Regions from separate parts of the Homo sapiens genome. Here region 1 is linked to region 2. Evidence: promoter capture Hi-C in human tissues and cell types (Jung and others, 2019). All regions are on one chromosome and are shown on one strand. Each heading gives the region's core, a stretch centred on a gene start or on the middle of the fragment in contact. The rest is flanking DNA. Distances are from core to core; before and after follow the strand shown.

What was found. Contacts are between HindIII fragments. The study calls those that stand out against the background at their distance.
Region 1: a contact is called between a fragment that was not itself captured here and the fragment with the promoter of ONECUT2 in region 2, in 3 of the 25 tissues and cell types used here (dorsolateral prefrontal cortex, mesendoderm cells and small bowel).

Annotation. Positions count from the first base shown.
Region 1 is chr18:56,897,159-56,903,189 of GRCh38, reverse strand. All of the region lies in intron 21 of WDR7 (WD repeat domain 7), which reads right to left. Among named protein-coding and RNA genes, the nearest start is that of WDR7-OT1, 140 kb to the left of the region's middle. The HindIII fragment of the contact is 3,358 bases long and covers 517-3,874 here.
Region 2 is chr18:57,432,263-57,438,886 of GRCh38, reverse strand. ONECUT2 (one cut homeobox 2) reads right to left here and starts at 3,513. Exons shown (of 2, transcript NM_004852.3): 1 at 1,943-3,513. The coding sequence starts at 3,170. RefSeq lists enhancers at 757-1,512, 3,627-4,206, 4,207-4,787 and a silencer at 3,584-3,633. The HindIII fragment of the contact is 18,346 bases long and covers 1-6,624 here.

The DNA of each region.
Region 1 (6,031 bases), core at 946-3,445, 530 kb after region 2:
AGATGCAAAACCTCAACGGTTGATGAGGTACTCTCTAGTATGTTTTTAGGCAAGGTTGCTATTAAGTATAAAACAAAAGCAAGTAACTACCACCCAAGGCATTAATACACAATGCTGCCAACGGGCAATCACCTTGATATTTAAGTCAGAAAGGCCAATATTTATTTCAGAAAGGTTCTGAAATAAGAACCTACTGGGTGGTGTGTCAGGAGGGCAACCACGTAAGCAAGTTTGAAAGAACCTGCAAAAATTCACACATTCCTAGACATAAAACGCATTTTTGAGAGAATGAAAAAATCTGTTAACCAAAACACTTTCTATCGATACAGTGATGAGAGTCACACCTTCCTTATGCTGCTGCAGTAAAAGACTGAGTCATAAGTCACTCATTACCTTTTACTTCCCTTAACATCATACTTGTCTGTCTTTTGTCCAGTTGTTAATTTGAGCTCTGGTTTATATAATTTGCTTTAAAAAGCTGGTGCACTTCCAAATCCTAGCACAGTTGAAAATTTACTATTAGGATGAGCCATGTGAAATAGCCAATATTTGACCATCTTTGACCCTCAAAAATGGCAATTTCATATGACACAAGTTAATATTTGATACAATAGTCCTTAATACCACTACACCTGCAACACAGGCATTCAGACAGAAAAATCACAGAGTTTCCATCTGTGTTTACCTGGATGTCTGTCTGTACATGATTTAAGGGAGGTACTAAATAAGACAATAACATTTCAATCTTTGTCTAGCATTTAAAAAATATAGCTTTTAAATAAGCACATTATATAATTATATATACATGTCCCTATATAAATGTCCACAAAGGCAAACTCTACTTTGTAGTTACCAAAATTAACTTGATTGACAAAAGATAGGCTCAGCACTATGATTTCTGGGCAATGAAAACAGCTTGAATGACACACTGCATATAACTATGTAATATTGCTATACTTTAGAAGTAGCCACATCAATATTTTAGGACTTGTGTTATTGCCCAGAACTCTTCTCTTCCCAGAAGCAGAGTGGCCTGTTCAACTCAAGCCAACTGCTATATGCAGTTCCGGAGGTCACAGAACTGACACTGGTGACATTCTGAGCAGACTGCTTTGTGATGTGATGGTCAGTCAGACAAAGTAGAATTTTAAATGAGCTTGAGCTTAACAAGCCTGAAACTCTTCTGTAGCACTTAAAAGTCTGAAGAATTCTCCACTTGCCAATAGTAGTATTCGCCCTTCAAACCATGAACACAAAGACACTAGTAAATCCTCTGCTTGCCATTTTTATTCTTTCTTTACTCCCAGAATGCTGTCCCAGTGAACTGACAACCGCAGCTAAAATGGATGGCACTCCAACATTTTACAACATACAATGCAACTAGGTTGCCTTTTCTATTTTGGAGAAAATACATTGTAATGACCACTGGGACTGAGGATAAGAGATTATAGGGACCATTTCTTCAGTCTGATAAAGCACCTAGTAGCAGGCTCAGAAATCCATAGCAATTAAAAGGCAAATAAAAGTTAAATATAGAATTTGTACATCTATTGTACATTATAATCAAAGATGTGATCTTGTTAACAGATCATTAATTATTCCTTATCACTAACATCCTTGTGAAGTACTAGGTAAGCGATGGGACATTACTAGGCCATTGAAATGCAAATTTGGGGACAACAGTTGCCAACCATCATTTATTTATCTGTAAATGCAAAATGGAGTTAGTTGTGCTTACTCTACAGAGGTAGAATTCATTTTTTGAGGCATGGCCTGGTTTTCAAACCTACCCCATGACTATACTGCCTAGAGATCTACCCAGCTATGATAAGAGTACTTCCCAGAAAGCAACAAAATAGAGAACAATTTCTGGATTGTCCTTTCAAAACTTAAGACAATGACATTATAATAACTATTTATAGAGAATATAATTAGCATTATTATTTTTAAAAATTTTCAAAGACACGGTCTTGCTATGCCCACACTGGTGTTAAACTCCTGGCCTCAAGCAATCCTTCGGCCTTAGCCTCCCCAAGTGCTGGGATTACAGGCATGAGCCATCATGCCTAGCCCATGATTAGCATTATAAAGAACCAAGCAGATAATAAAATTTTAGTGATGTGAAAGTTTTGATTTATGAGACTGTATTTAGAATTATAACAGTAAATTATTCCTTCTAGAACAGTTAGCAATGTATAGTATCTCAGCTCTAAATTCATTGTTTACCTACTGCTTTGCAATACTGGAGCTGGACTCTGGAAACATGTCCTTTGCCAGCTGGCAGAATGTTAAGCTTCATTGATAGAGGTCAATGGAGAGATCCGGCAAGGGGAAAAACACTTCCCTCCCCAAGCTGCTGTGGATGGCCTAACCCTTGGAAAATGGCAGGCTGTGTCTATAGACCAGCTTGGACCAGCCCATCAGCTCTAGCCCCCATCCCTGAAGAAACTTCCAGATTAGCAACAAGCTGCCTCCACTCACAGGCAGCGGTAGGCCACTTTGGCAAATTTCATTATCTACAAGCCCGATGTTCCCCTAGGAATCACTGACTCTTTAAAGAAGTCTAATCTTAGCCTTGGAGGAGGGCCTCTCCCAGTCCTGAGTCACTTTACTATCCACTCTTCCGCACCCTAGACGAGGTAGTAGCTGATATTTTGCACATAGTATCTCTGGACCCCTGAGTCTCTTTTTACCTCTTTTAGTAGTTAATCATTTTCTGCTAGTGAGAAGCTCTTTGTATTAAACTTCCACTGTTTAGGTAACTGATGTGGTTTCTATTTCCTGACTGATTTACCTCCCTTCCTCTCCATCTCCCTTCAAGAATGAATGGGAACCAACTTTACACTACCTAAAGTAACCGCTTTTACTTCTCTGGCTTGGAGACTACTACATAGCTTTAATAGTATTCTAGAAAATTCTACCTTCTCTTTTCTTTACAAAATCATGAAGTAGTACAATTCAGTTACTATAAAAGTTCTCCAAAGTGTCCAGCCCGTCTACTCTATAGATGACAAGATAAAATTTCTGATAACAGTGAAAATTTACTAAAATGCCTAAATCAAAATGCCATTAACAATTTTATATATATATATATATATATATATATACACACACACACACACACATATATATATGTGTCCAGTGAGCTTAATTCAGAGATCACTTATTAATCATGATGTACTCTTATTTGCTTAAAGGAGAAAATCTACAGGTTTGGAGCATAAATCAGACAGTCATCACCTAGGCACACATAAATAATGCAAAACTTTAAAGCACATATTGAATTCTTAGGGATTATTTCTAAAGTTACTTGTTTATCAATGTGTCAGCACTTTGTCAATGGAAATATAAAACTCCTTTATTCTTAAAGCTTATATGATGATCAGAAATCGTTAACACAAAAAGCATTTATTTCTTACACATTAGATATAGTCAAGATTAGTTTCAGGCTTGTACAGTCTAGAATGATTTTTTTTTAAAACAATAAAATACAAAACTAAAGGTAACAAATGAAAAGTATGTTGTACTGGGATCTAATTCCCATGGGTAGCTTTCCTTAGTGTGGGCTCAAGGAAAATACCAATTAATTGCAATGGGCATGTGCAGAAGAAAAACACTCTGAAAAGGTAAAACAAAAGATGCCTTAAAATTTTCAGGAATTTAGGCAATACCTTAGAAACACATTATTGTGTCTTTAATATAAGAATTTTTAAAACTTTGAGGACAGCATGGAAGATTTTTCTTTTTTTCTCCTATGACTAGCAACAAACAAAATTCAGAATATGACTTACTCTAATATTTTGTTTCAACTTTATTTCATGTAATATAGTGGGGAAAAATATACCTATTTAAAATAATGAATTAGAGGTAAGAAGCATCATGGCTTAATGGACATGGATAAAGTTGAATGTGAAAAATATACTCTCTATTCCAAGACCTACCTAATAACACAATGATATATGCTAAAAATCTCTAATTATTATGCTTCTATTTTTAAATCTATAAATAAAACTGTACCAAACTTTCTACCCATGGGTTGTATAGCACCCTCGAAAACTGGAAAGGGAGAAATATTGGGGAAGGAATAGAAACATTAAATTGCTATTCTTAATTCTTAACATAATCAGCTACTTTGAAATATAGTATTACTTATACTACTATAAAATATAAATCTATCTTTATTCTGCTACCTAGGAAGAACCGCTTTTTAAGAACTATTTTGAAATAATTTTTGGCTTCCAGAAAACTTGCATAAATACAGAGATTTCACAGAATTCTTCACTCAGATTCTTCTAAGGTCAACTTACATAACCATTGTATGATTATCAAAATTAGTATTGGTAGAATCCTACTCACTAGCCTACAGACCTGGTTTAAGCTTCACCAGCGCCCTTTTTGGTTCCCACATCCACTTCTAGATCCCACACTGTATTTAGTTGTCATGTCTCTTTAGTCTTCTTCAATCTGTGACAGTTCCTGACATGGTTCATCTTCTCTTCCAAGACTCTGACATTTTTGGTGAATAATGGTTCATTTTGTGGAATGTCTCTCAGTTGGGATGTTTTCTCAAGATTAGATTAAAGGTATGCCCTTTGACTAGAATATCACAGATATGTCCTTGCAAGTGTATCATTCCAAGGAAAATCTGACGTTGAAATGTTTTATTACTGACAACGCTACCCTTCATCATTTGTTTAAGCTAACGAATTACAGTGGAGAAATCAACTTTCCCTTTGCAACTGATACATATCTTGGGAGGAAAAACTTGAAGGCTGTGTTAAATATACTGATTTTAACATCCACCCCTGAATCTTGTCTGCAACAATTACTTCTGTGATCTTCGCCTAATAAAGATTTCCCTGATTCTTGCTATATTTATTAACCAGAATCCTTCTGTAAGAGCTGTCCCTTATCCTTCATTTATTTATTTATTCTAATAGTATGGCTTCATGGGTATTTTATTCTATAGATTATAATTCCATAAAATATATCATATTTTGTTGCCTAAATTGTTCCAGTTTTGGCTATTAGAAGCACCTTCAGGTTGGTCCCATGTCCTTTTGACGTGCCCCTATCCTTTTTAAGCCCTTATTTTTTGACATCACAGACAGATGTTCTAAGCCCTAAAATCAACTGCTTCTCCAAGGAGTCCTAGTTCCTTTTATTAGATAATGGTATTTCAAAACCAACATCTTTGCTATAGGTATGGACTTTGCTACTGGAGTGTCATTGCTCCTGGACCCTCTCAGTGGCCAGAGGTAGGAAATATACGTCTCCACACCAATCAAGGTATAAAAAAGTATTTATATTTATTTCTATATCTGTATGCATGCATACTAAACTATGAGGTCATAATTATATTTCGAGATTCATTCTACCCTTTTCTTTTTCCTTAATTGTAACTGAGAGAAACATTTTTATAATCTTGGTCACTGCTATTTTAGATACTTGAATCATAATATTTACTACAAGACTGAATCAAAGTGTACACATTTTTATGCCCTTCTTTTATTTGGCTCAACAATACAAAGGTAAAGATGCATAATTTTTATGTGACAACATAAAAAATATCAATGTCTTACAATATTTATGAAGCCCCTTGGGTAGTTCTACCTGAATTCACCCCCTTTCTTAGCACCCTTTAGAGTAATCATTGTTCTGAGTTGTGTGGTTTCATTCCCTAGCTTTCATTTTTCTTACTACATACGTTTGTATCCCTAATAATAAATTATTTCATTTTACATGGTTTTGAACTTCATAAAAGTTCATTCTTTTTCCATTCTTTTTTTGCTCAGTATATTTGTCCAATACTTAATGCACATGCGCTGATTCCAATTTTTGTTATTTCAAACTGTTTGCTATGAACATGCTTGTACATGTTTCCTGGGTTACATGTGAAAAGGTTTCTCTAAATATAGAAAAGGGTGGACTCACAAGATAATATACTCAATTGTTTTCCAAAGAGACTAAACCAATTTACATTCTTATAATAAGTATAAAAGAGTTCTGGTTGTTCCAAGTCCTCCACAAA
Region 2 (6,624 bases), core at 2,264-4,763:
TGTCAGCCAGTCTCCAGTTCATTTCCCGCCGCTATTATTATCGCTCTCTACTGGCTGCTTTATCTTGCCCCGAACCAACAGCAAATCAGAGAAAACTGTAGGAGAGGATGAAAAATAAACTAAAGGAGAAAGATTACATAAATTTCTAAATCCACTCAAAGTATCCGGAGTCCGCCGATTTGGGGGAGGCTCTTTGCAGGGAAACCTAGTTTTCTTTACCTTCTTAGATCAACACTGCGGGGCGATTACCGACTGGGAATAGGAATCCACCAGCAGACGGCAAAGGAAAATGCTGTCAAAGCGGAAACTCCCCCTCCCCAAGCCCGGGTGAACCTGCTGCCTGTCACATTCCCCAGCCCTGTCGGGCGTTGGTCGAGTGCACCCCACAAGCTGGGCTCAGCGGTGCGAGGAAAGCCCGGGGGATCGGGGGTGGAAACCTGAGCTCGCAGCTCCGGAAGCGAGCTGTGCGAGGCTGGCTCGGAACCGCGCGCATCCCAAGACCCGCGCTATGCAAATCATCGCCACCACGAATTGTTCCCCTAGACCGCCCGCCGATCCTGAAAGATACCCCCCTCCACCCGATCCATGGGAAGTCGCCCACCCTGGCTTGCCATAGGGTATAGTGTGTCCTTCCCAGCGGGGGACCTGGACATTTTGCCCCTCTGGGCCCGTGGCTTGCTCCTAGGGGCAGCGCAGTCGCCACGCACACCGCGCGGGGTCCGTGCGCACAAAAGCGCGCAACTGCGTGCCAGTCGCAGTAACTACTGCATCTTTCCCTCTAGCTCGCGCACCCGCCGCCCACACAGGAGGTTTCTGTGCTCCTAGAACAATAGAGGGCTGTACCTCGCAGCTTGGCCGCTAGAGGAGGCACAAAGAGCCGAGCCGGCTCCAGAACAATGTAACCCGCGCCTCTACCCGTCCCCTCCCGCGGGCCGCCAGTCCTCCCCGCGGTCGCCAGGCGCGCACAATCAGCGCCCGCTTAATGCAAAGGCGGAGCCTGCAGCCGGCGGCAGGGATGCATTAACTAACCTGAATTTTTAATTTCTCAGCACCTCTTCCTGCGAGTGCTCAGGGTCTCCCGGAGCCCCGGCAAATCCTGGCAAATCCCAGCAAACGCTGGGACCGGGGCAAGGACGGCCGGTGAGCAAGGCAAAGCGCTTTCCACCTCAGTCTCTTCTCCCACGTCCTCCCAAAGCGGTGAATGTGACCTTCTCAACCTTACACCCTGCCCTCGCTGTAGGTAGTGACATTGGAGCTGGCCCGAGCCCCTCAAGCCCGGTCAGAAAGTCCCTGCGCCAACGCCAAGGCCAGAGATGGGCTCCAGGAGCGCTGTTGTATCCTGGCCGCCGGTTCCCCGCGGGGGCAAGGCTGTGCCTTCAGCCAATGACCAAATAAGTTTGCCTATATGGTGGGTGGGAGAGTAGAGAGCTCTTTTCCCTCTGCAGAGCAAAGCCTCTCAACTGCCTCTGCACAGGGAGACTAGTCAGCCCGGAAAATTGAAATGTGTTGTCTAAAAGAGACTTGAAGTGCATGGGGTTTTGAATAAGGGCAGGTCCTGGTTTCTGTGGGTCTTGGAAAGACAGGGCTCCTAGAGGAAAACGCACACCCCCATCCCGCCTCCCAGTACCTGGGAAGATCGGAAATAGGGCAAAGGTTGGCACATTGAGGGGAGGGCGAATGAAATGGGGGGGGGTCGGTCAATGAAAGCTCAGGGACAAGGAGAGAGTAAGAAAGAAAAAGAAAAGGGAGAAGGGAAAGTAGGGGAAGAGCGGAAGAGAAAGAGAAAATGGAAGAAGAAATAAAAACGAGAAGAAAGAGGACGTGTATAGGAAAGAGAAGGAAAGAATCAAGAGAAGTGACTCGGCGCGCAGACTTGGGCCACAAGCACCGGACCCGGAGCCCTCTTCCCAGCAGCCTGGCCCCTGGCTAGCCCCGGCCTTACCTGCCAGGCGTAAGGCGGACATGCGCTGGAACTCGGGCTCCTGAAGCCACTTCCACATCCTGCGGAAGGTCTCCCTGCCAGATTTGAGTTTACTCCACGGTTTTGGATTCCGGAGCAGGTCGGAGAGAGTCCCCTGAGACCGGCACAGCACCCTCTGCGCAAAGATCGCCTGGGGGATACTGTAGCGCTTCAGCTCCGCTGTGATGCGCTGGGCCACCTCTTTGGTGTTGATTTCTTCCAGCTGGCCCGACGTGGCCACCTGCGAGCCCGATGAGGACGAGGGTGGCCGCTCGCGACTGGGTGCCAGCACCGGCCCGTGAGACTGAGTGTGGCCCGGGTGGTGCAGGCCGTTCAGGTGCGACATCATGGCCGCAGGTGGGGTGCCCAGGCCGCGGGACAGGTGTTGCTCACCGCGGGTCAGCATGGCAGTGTGGTGCGCGTCGAAGTTGGGGCTGAGCATTTTGTCGTGGCCCGGCGGACCGTAGTTGGGCAGACTCTGCTGCGCGTTGTGGAGGCCGCCTAGCCCGTTGCCCAGCGGCGTGGCGGCCAGCGGGGACAGGCTCTGGCTCATGCCGGGCATCTCCTTGTAGGGACTGTAGAGGTTGTTCATGGCCGGGAGCCCGCGCTCGTCGCGCATGAGGGTGAAGCTGCCGCTGACGTTGCCGGACAGGCGCTGGTGGTGGTGGTGGTGGTGGTGGTGCGGATGGTGGTGCGGGTGAGGGTGGTGGAACTTGTCAGACACGGTGGAGATGGGTGGCAGCGGCTGGAGCGGTGTCAGCGTGGTGTAGGTGTTGCTCATGCCCATGCCAGGCGGAGACGAGTCGCAGGACATGCTCATGGCGTGGTGCAGCGGGATGGAGAGCTCGGGCCGGTAGTCGCCGCCGTCCAGGATCGAGGCCATGCTGGTGACCATGGCCGAGCGCGACGCCGCCGCTGCCGCCGCTGCCGCCGTGCCCAGCTCCTGGTGCGCGGTTGGAGGCGGCGGAGGGCCCCGCAGCGAGCCAGCGGCGCCGCGGCCCGCGTGGTGGGGGCTGGGGCTGGCCAGCAGCTCCTGCTCATGGCCCGGGCCCCCGCCGCCGCCCCCGCCGCCCCCGCCGCCGCCCCCGCCACTGCCGCCGCCGGCCGGCCCGTGCAAAGTGCCCAGACTTTCCATTGTCAGCTCCGGGTTCATGGCGCAGCCTTCTAGGTCTTTGGTGAGGCATCGATAGGCGGTGTAGGCAGCCTTCATTCAGTCCATCAGGGCCCGGGGGCGGCGGGGGCGGCGGGGGCGGCCGGCGGGCGGGCAAGGCGCGCGTGGCGGGGCTCGGCTGCGGGAGTGGGGGCGGGCGCGGGAGTGAGTGGAGAGGAGTGCGCGTGCGGGTGTGCGCCCCGGGCTGCGGGCGGGCTCGCCCGGGGTGGGGGCGGGGTGGGGGCGGACGGGGCGTGCGTGCGGGAGAGGGGAGGGGACGGGGAGGGAGGGAGGGATCACCGGGCCCCGCCGCTCGGGCCGGCTCGCAGCCTCGCCATGTCCGAGCCCGCTCCGGCGCCGACGTCTTCTGTTTGGGTGAGCGGGAGCTGTCCAGAAGGGCTCTGCCGCTCGCCGGGGCAGCCAACCTACCCTCCCGGACCTGGGGCGGGGCCACGCCCGACGGGCGCCAAGCGCAACCACTCCGAGGCCGCAGCTGCCCCGGGAGGCGGGCCTTCCACGGGAAGCTACCAGTGGCTGTGGAGGGGGCGGGGCCGCACTTTTCAGGTTTGGCTGACGGCTCGGTGCCTTTTTTACCTCCTTTGCTACTGGAATCAAACGTCAAGGAGAGGGAGGGAGGAGAAGGTGGGGGGGTCGCTGGGGAGAGGGAGGCTGGAGTGCGAGCGAGCGAGAGAGATTCGGTGAAAGATGCCGTGCTGTGTCCCCCCTGAGCAGCTGCGATCTGGGGGAAGGGGCATTGCTTCAATCGCCTTCGCCTCACCCCAAAGCTTTCCTGGAGGCGAGTAAGCCGGGAGCAAAAGACTCCGCTATGTGCCAGTATAGACAAACACTCGTCACTAACAAGCCACTTACCGAGAGTCCCTAGCTGGGAGCCAATAGTTTAGCCTTTTAAAATGCAGGCGCTAATGTATTCTAATGCATGGTAAATTCCCGAGGCCGGGACATGCATAATCTACGCGGTCAGAGCAACTGTAGTGCCCTCGTCGCCAGCGAGCTGCGGCCGGCCGGCGGCCCACGGGCGGCGCGGGCAGCAGTAATGCATGCAAAGTTAACACAATAACATCATTTAATTACCCGGTGAGCCCATAAATCTCAGTTATGAGGCTTCCGAAGAGCCCTGCTAGATTGCAAAACAAAACTAGAATTCCGGGAGCTGCCGTTTCAAGGTGACCAAGTGCTTTCTGCATCAGCGACTTGGAAAGAAGTGGGGAGAGTGTAGAACCGGTGAGGTGGAGGTGAGGAGGGTCGCTGGTGTCCCAAGTGAGCAAACTTCTCCTGGGGGCAGAGAGTAAGCAAACCAGCTGAGACGGCAACCACGGACCTTTCTCCTAACACGAGACACACACACGCGCACACACACACACACACACACACACACACACTCCCGCTTCTCTCAAATCCCGGGAGAGAAACGGCGGTGGGCAGACGACAAGGAATCCTGGCTGACACCTGCATATTCAAACCTTGTTTCTGAAAAGACCAGCGCCCCGGCCAGCCTGAGAACGCTCACAAGCCAAGGCTTTAAAAACCGCACCTACGTCTTCCTAGAATTTCCGTTGTTTGGCAACCCCAGGTCTGGAGGTGGGAGTGGAACTGGGGGACAGAGAGTTGGAGATTTCTGCAGTCCGAGTCGGGGTGGAGGGGTAGTTGAAGACAGAGAGGCCAACACCCGGCATAAAGCCTTAAACGTAACAAGATTCTTCCAAAGCAGGTTGCGCTCTGTTTGCCTCCGAAGATTCAAGCTAGCTGAGGTTGCGCAGATGTTGCCTTTGTTTAAAGAGACAGTAATTAAGGACAGGGTGGACATAAGTTTGAGAAGCGTGACCTATTTTCTTTTGATCAGCTGTCAAAAGAAGAGCAGGGGGTCTCCTTAAGACAGCCCCCTTCAACCACTTCCAGCTGTTAGAGAAAACTTGATAAGAAAACAAGGGCAGAGCTCGGAATACTGTATGTCCCTTCTTGGTGCCAGAGAAAGGTTTGATTCATTTGGAAAACAGTTCTTAGTCTCAGTGACCTTTTCTGCCGCCCTCCTCTCTCTTCTTGCTTCAGAGCAACACCCCCACCCCCACCCTGTCACATGAATGTACAGTGACGTTATTCATAGATCAACTTCATTGAGCTCTGGCCAATACGCTGCCAATTATTCTTTCAAATAGCGTCTTCTCTGTGTTATCAAAGCCTGAGTAAGAAAGCGGCAGATCCTCTGGTTTGCCAGACATACTTTTCTGGTTGCTCACATCTCTAGTGTCACAACAGGAGCCAGGTAAAATAACTCAGATTTTGGTTTCTCTGTTTTTCCTCTCCTCCTCACCCCCTCCTACTGTCTCTCTTCGCACTCCCTACCTTATATATGGCATCTGGACACTTGGGATGATTTGAGTCAGTTAATGTTTGAAATATAATACTGAGTTGAGCAAAAGTTCACGAGAGTGCAACCTGTTCTTGGTCCATGAGTGCACAGGGACTGAAATACAGCAGGAGAGAAGCAGAACTGGGAAGTAGTGGGTCTGATATGCCCCAGTGCTAAGGTAGCCTCTGCTGCTCTGCTGGCTTCAGTCTCAAGGAGTGGCCAGTTACCCTAGGCTGATGCTTCCTCCATACAGAAACCTAGGTATATAAATTGCCATTTAAATAAATTTTCAAAATGTTAAACTCATTTGCCAGGACACTGAGATAAACCTGCTTTTGGGAATTATATTTCGGTGTGCCTGGGAGCAGAAAGGTGAGTTGCATTTTCTCGCTGCCTCGCTTCCTTCCTTCCTCCCTCCCTCCTCCCTCACTCCCACCATCCCTCCGCCTTCCCTCGATCAATATTGGCGATCTCAGGGAAATCATGAAATCGTATTGGCTTCTTTGTGTATAATTTCATTGGACTAGAATTAAAGCAGATTTTTCACGTTGTTTTTATAATGGTGGTTTGAGGTTTTATGTTTCAACCCAAAATCCATTTAAAAGGAAAATGGATGTGCTTGTTTAGTGAGCACCCTAATTTTTACTGAATTAGGTTTGGATGCCCTTTTCTCTTTCTTTCTAAAAAGGAACAATATTTGTTTTTTACTTCAAGACAATTTTTGGAGTATCAATACTAATACGATTTTCAAGTATTTTTTGAAATATTTTTGATGTTTCTTTCTCTATAGTTCTTTAAGAAAATATAAGGGAAAGTGGCTTTCTAACTGCCCCTTGTTTAGCATCCATACTTTAACCTTAAGAAGTTCTGCAACTTGGAATTTTTTCTTTTAATTTGAAGTTACACTCCTCTTCTCCCCCCTCCCCACCAGCATTTGATTTACAAACACACTGTATAGAAATGTGGTATGATAAGTGCTAATTCACGGCTATTAGAATCTGGACAAACAGTTGTACCAAGCATTATATCAGGACCTGGATATTCACTTAGCATGCCACATTCACAGGTCCAATTTTCTTGAAGATCAGAAACTTAAATGGGTCAAAAGAAGCATGAAAATAAAATGCAGCTTCGACAACAAGACTA